Regions from separate parts of the Homo sapiens genome. Here region 1 is linked to region 2. Evidence: promoter capture Hi-C in human tissues and cell types (Jung and others, 2019). All regions are on one chromosome and are shown on one strand. The core of a region is centred on a gene start or on the middle of the fragment in contact, and the rest is flanking DNA. Distances in the headings are between cores, read along the strand shown. Region 1 overlaps KIAA1328. Region 2 holds the start of TPGS2 (tubulin polyglutamylase complex subunit 2).

Region 1 (2,700 bases), core at 7-2,506, 67 kb before region 2:
AGATACAATTCAGATATTCTGTTGACTTCTAATTATTTCATGAGCATAATTATATTCACTACTTCTGAAAAATTAGTTTTGAAATGCAAAATCTTGAGTACAATTTTTTTTAATGTTACTGCATAAGTCTCTAACTTAAGTGAGAGTATTACCATCTAAATCATTTATTCATAAGTTAAGGCCATCCTAAGGTTAAGAATACTAAGACAAATTTGCTACTGATTAATAATAAAGTCACTCACTATATTCTTCAAATGTAAAGCAATTACAAGCTGTGGTATGGCAAACAGATGTAGCTGAAAAGAGTACATCAGATAGCCCTTTAAGGAAAATCAGTAATGTAAAAGGCTAAACAATAATCCTAAATAATACCCTGAATGATAATTATGAGATTGATTTATTTAAAGTCTATTTCTTCATACAAGAACTGTTGAAACTTTCCAAAGTAATTTTAAATGATGCTATACAGGTTTAGTACCATTTATCCAGAACAGAACCATCACTGAAAAAAAGATAATTAAACAAAGATGCAGCAAATAAATGTTTTTTGAATTTCAGTTTGCTGAGCTTATTTACATGTGGGTATCAAAAAGAAATGAAATCCTTAGCCACTAGAGCCAGGTGAGAAGCCCCAATCCACATTTATTTGAACTGCAGTGTCACTCACTATAAAGCAACATAGAAGTTGCTCTCTGAGGATGTTAAGGTTCCACGTCTGGAGCCTTCAGTAAATCGAAGACATCAAAACCAAAGCAAAATCAAGCTTGGAAAGTTAAGCTATTTTTTTAATTATAAAATGAGTACATCATATATATTAAAAGGGTCTTAGCTAGTAAGGCAACAAGATTGCCAAAAATCAAATCTCATCAAAAAATAATACAAAATGATATTTAAAAATTATTGTTCAAAAATGTATTAACACCCAACCAAGAAAATAAAGCTAAAATGATCAGAGAACGATATCTGAAAATACACTAATATTAGAAACACTACCCTCCACAAATACACTGAAAAGCCTTCTAAGCTGATAATTAGAATAAAAATTACCAAAGAACTAAGTACATATTAAGTACTGCCTTAGTCTGCTCAGACTGCCATAACAAAATACCACAGACTGGGAGGCTTAAACAACAGATATTTATTTTCTCACAGTTCTGGAGGCTGGAAGTCCAAAATAAGGTCTGATCGGGTTTGGTTTCTGGTGAGGGCTCTCTTGGCTTTCAGGCTTCTACCTTCTTGCTGTGGCCTCACACAGGACAACGTGGGGGTGTGGTGTGTGACAGAGAGATCTCTCTGCTCTTCTTCTAGGACAACAGTCATTGGATTAGGGCTCTACCAGTATGACCTCATTTAACCTTAATTGCCTCCTAAAAACCCTATCTTCAGCTACATTCTCACTGGGGGTTAGAGCTTCAACATATGAATTTTGAAGGGACACAATTCAGTCCATCGCAAATTCTTAAGTAACAAATAAATACATAAGCAAACGAACCTTGCTAAGCCCAGAATAGCAGGCAAAGGGGCTGAAAAGCACCATCTCTTCTCACACTACTCCAAAAAATACATGTTTAGCAGTTAGATAAACTTATTAGAATTTTTAAAAAATATTTGTCTCATTCTTACAGAAGAAAAGCTGAAAATCAGAAAAGGTGCTAGAAGATATGAAGCAGATCTTTAAAATCTCTTCCAGCCTTAAAACAAATCCCAAAACATCCCTTCACATAGACGCCCTTTGGCACAACAGTATCTCCTTTTCCTCGTGGCCTTCACTTTCTCACCCCTACTCTAGCCTAAAGCCTTTGCAAAGCAGCTTATTCTTCTAAAATGTCATTGAAATGCTCCTGCATTCAATGACTTACCAAAGTCACAAAAGTATAAAGTAGCTGATCCAAGATCTCTTATAAGTTTTCTTACTAAAAATCCAGGACTGTTTCAAGTACACAACAGTGCCCAAAGAACCATAAGAAGATACGCAAGTTAGGGCAGCTGGTACAGGTATGAATGCTAGGAGCCAAATACTATTTTTAAAAATGTACTGGGGAAGATGACTTTAAAAATTTTTGAAGAAGGAAATTAGTAAAACAAGCAATGACAAAGAAACAGAAATTAGATGTAATAAGTAGGAAAACCCAATAAGTCTTTCTTAGCTGGTATGTGGGGGCCATAAAAATGAAGGTCACACATGTTACTTGACACTAGTAATGGAGGGCTTGAATGTCAAAATCAAGAATATGCATTTGGTCCTTTAGGCCATAAGAAGCTGTGGAATGGTATGAAAAAGCCAAGTGATGTAATAAAAACAGAACTTAAAGCCAGACACAGTGGCTCACGTTTGTAATCCCAGTACTTTAGGACACCTAGGTGAGAGGATCGCTTGAGCCCAGAAGTTCGGGACCAGCCTGAGCAACATAGGGAGACCCCGTCTCTACAAAAATACAAAAATTAGCCAGGTGTGGTGATGCATGCCTCTGGTCCTAGCTACTTGAGAGGGCTGAGGTGGGAGGACTGCTTGGGCCTGGGAGTTAAAGGCTGCAGTGAGCCATGACTGCACCACTGTGCTCCAACTAGATGACCTGGTAAGACCCTGTCTCAAAAAAAAAAGAAAAGTAGTCCTTAAGAAAAATTAATCTGGCAACTGTAATGGAATGAACTCTTTCAAACGACAGTTGGAAACAATGGAGGCAGGCACACAAGGAATGA
Region 2 (2,700 bases), core at 47-2,546:
AAATGGTAATTATGTCTAGTAAGTGCAAACACTAAACACGAGCAGCACAGAATACAAACATATCCCTCTCTCTACACATGACACTAATCCTAGTAACTCAACAAAGGAGTTGATAACACAGTTTTGTAAGTTTCACTGGGAGCTAAGAAGAATGCCCAGTGATTCTGCCAAAGGTAACAGCAACGCCTCAATTAATGCCATCACCAATCCTAGCAAACACAAAAAGAGCTGCCTCTGCAAGCACTCAGTAACACAGATTGCCGTCCCTCTTTCAAGTAACCCCTCTAAGGAACGTGAAGTAAATTATCAGGACCAAAGCTCAAGCGAGAAGAGTCTACCTACTCCAAGGAAAGAAACACTCCTGTCACACAAACATCTCATCACTGCTGCTGAACTGGTAATACTACCACTGGACTAAAAAGTTCCACTGCTTCTCCACCTCACAACGATCCAAGAACTTCAATGACTGCCAGTGACCCGCACTCCACAAGTAAGTCAACAATACTTCCAGGCACAATGATTCCCATCTTACGCAGTAACCAGCACCACCAGACCACATCCCAGTAACCAAGCTCCACACCTCTCCTAAAACCCCAGTATTAAAATACATCATCACTGGAGGGCCTTTTAAGTCCGAAAGGTCCTGACTTGCTCCTAGCAATGCAGACTAAAGACAATCCTAAATCAAAACAAAAAGGCTCCCTGTCCAGCCAACACCGACTCCTCCCTCAACTTCGAGCTAGCTCCGCACACTCAAGTCAGCCTGGGGGCACTCTGACAGGGTGGGCAGAGGGACCTCGGAGGGCCATCTCAGCCCTGGACTGAGCCTGGACTCAAGGCTATCTTTCTCGAGCTCACCGGTAGTGAGCGCTGGGAAGCATCTGAGCCGTGTCCCCACACCTGCAGACAGTACCAGTCTCTCGGCCACCTAACACCCAAGCAAGGGGAGAGCCCAGCACCTAGACTGGGGCCGAGCAGCACGTCCCCATCCCCGGGGTTAGTTCGGAGCTTCTCCTCCGCTCTCGGACTGCCACGCGACGGCTCGCCCCTCGCCGTCCCGTGGAGGGCGCCGGCGCCCCCTGTCAGGCGGGCAAAGGATACAGTCCCGGCTCCAGAACGCCGCGGCACTGGGGCGGGAGGGGCCCGCCACGTCCGCCATCTTGAAACAACCGCCACTCGGGGCGTCGCGCCTGGGCCGCCACGCCTCGGCCTGCAGGCTCGGTCCCCATTGGCCGCACCACGCAGAGGCCCGCCCCCGCCTGCGCGGCCGGCCCCTGCGGGGCGAGAGGGTGGGGGCGAAGGGGAAGCTACGTCCCGGAGGTGCGGTGTGGGGCACCGGGCGGGGCCGCGGGAACCGGCGCCCCACGGAGCTGCTGCTGTCAGACCAACCCCGGGCCCCCATCATCACTGCGCCGCGCTTTCAGGCGCCGAGAACTACCGTTCCCGGCATGCCATGAAATTGGCCTCGGCGCTGAGGCGGGGTCCGGCCCTCCACCCGCTCCCGCCGCGCGCGAATCGCGGTCGCGAGCCATGGAGGAGGAGGCATCGTCCCCGGGGCTGGGCTGCAGCAAGCCGCACCTGGAGAAGCTGACCCTGGGCATCACGCGCATCCTAGGTGAGGAAAGGGGGCACGGTGCCGAGAGGGTGTGGAGGAGAAGGAAGGAGGAGCGGAGGGATGAGGTGCGGGGTGAGCGGTGCGACGCTGGCCCCAGAACAGGAGTGGACATCGCTGCTGGGACTTCCGTTGTTACAGAGGAAAGTGGGGGACCTGGGTTTGTGATTAGGCCTTGAAAGTGTTTGCCAGGAGTGTTCGGAGGCAGAGCTGGGAAGCCTGAAGTTTCCCCCACTCACCGCCAACCAAGGTCCCACCCAGGAAGGACGGGCAGAGACGTGCAAAGGGAACACAGCAAGCACCTGACGGTTGGGAAGTTGGATCTCCCCCTAGGAGGCATTCTCAGCCAGGGCATTATCCCCGAAACCCAAGACCTTTCTCTGGGGGAAGTAATGCACCCGACCTCCCAGGGCGACAACTACGTCGGGTCTGAAAGGAATCCAACCTTGCACCACTGAATGACTCAGAGTTTTTCTTTTATCGAACATTTCTTTGTTTGCTTGCTTGTTTGTATTTTGAGACAGAGTTTTGCTCTTGTTGCCCAGGCTGGAGTGCAATGGCGCGATCTCGGCTCACTGCAACCTGCGCCTCCTGGGTTCAAGCAATTCTCCTGCCTCGCCCAGCTATTTTTTTGTATTTTTAGTAGAGACAGGGTTCCACCATGTTGGCCAGGCTGGTCTCGAACTCCTGACCTCAGGTGATCCACCCGCCTCGACCTCCCAAAGTGCTGGAATTACAGGCGTGAGCCACCGCGCCTGGCCTATCAAACGTTTCTTTAGTACTCACCACTATGTTAGACGTGAGGTTAAAAATATGAAAAAGACACAGTTCTGTGAAAAAAATAAACAAATGAGGTCACTAGGAGTGTGAAAAGAGGTCAGTAATCTGTTACTCAGAGATGTCACAGAGGAGGGGACTGATCTTACCAGGGAAGTTAAAGAACATGTCACAGAGGAGATGATGCTAGATTTTGAAAGACATATAGGAGTTAGCCAGAAAACTAAGGAGGAGAAAGGTCTTTTAAGAAGGCTGAAAAGCATGCTTCAGTGCCTTCCCATCACAATTATAATAAAATCCAAATGTCTGTA

Evidence for each region. Contacts are between HindIII fragments. The study calls those that stand out against the background at their distance.
Region 1: a contact is called between a fragment that was not itself captured here and the fragment with the promoter of TPGS2 in region 2, in 2 of the 25 tissues and cell types used here (IMR-90 fibroblasts and lymphoblastoid cells).

The regions. Positions count from the first base shown.
Region 1 is chr18:36,894,435-36,897,134 of GRCh38, reverse strand. The region is part of intron 5 of KIAA1328; the gene reads right to left. Among named protein-coding and RNA genes, the nearest start is that of KIAA1328, 67 kb to the right of the region's middle. The HindIII fragment of the contact is 3,326 bases long and covers 1-2,700 here.
Region 2 is chr18:36,827,598-36,830,297 of GRCh38, reverse strand. It overlaps TPGS2 (tubulin polyglutamylase complex subunit 2), which reads left to right and starts at 1,296. Exons shown (of 7, transcript NM_015476.4): 1 at 1,296-1,615. The coding sequence starts at 1,531. It overlaps KIAA1328, which reads right to left and starts at 1,171. Exons shown (of 10, transcript NM_020776.3): 1 at 1,102-1,171. The coding sequence starts at 1,159. RefSeq lists a silencer at 937-1,536 and enhancers at 934-1,726, 1,827-1,936. The HindIII fragment of the contact is 11,405 bases long and covers 1-2,700 here.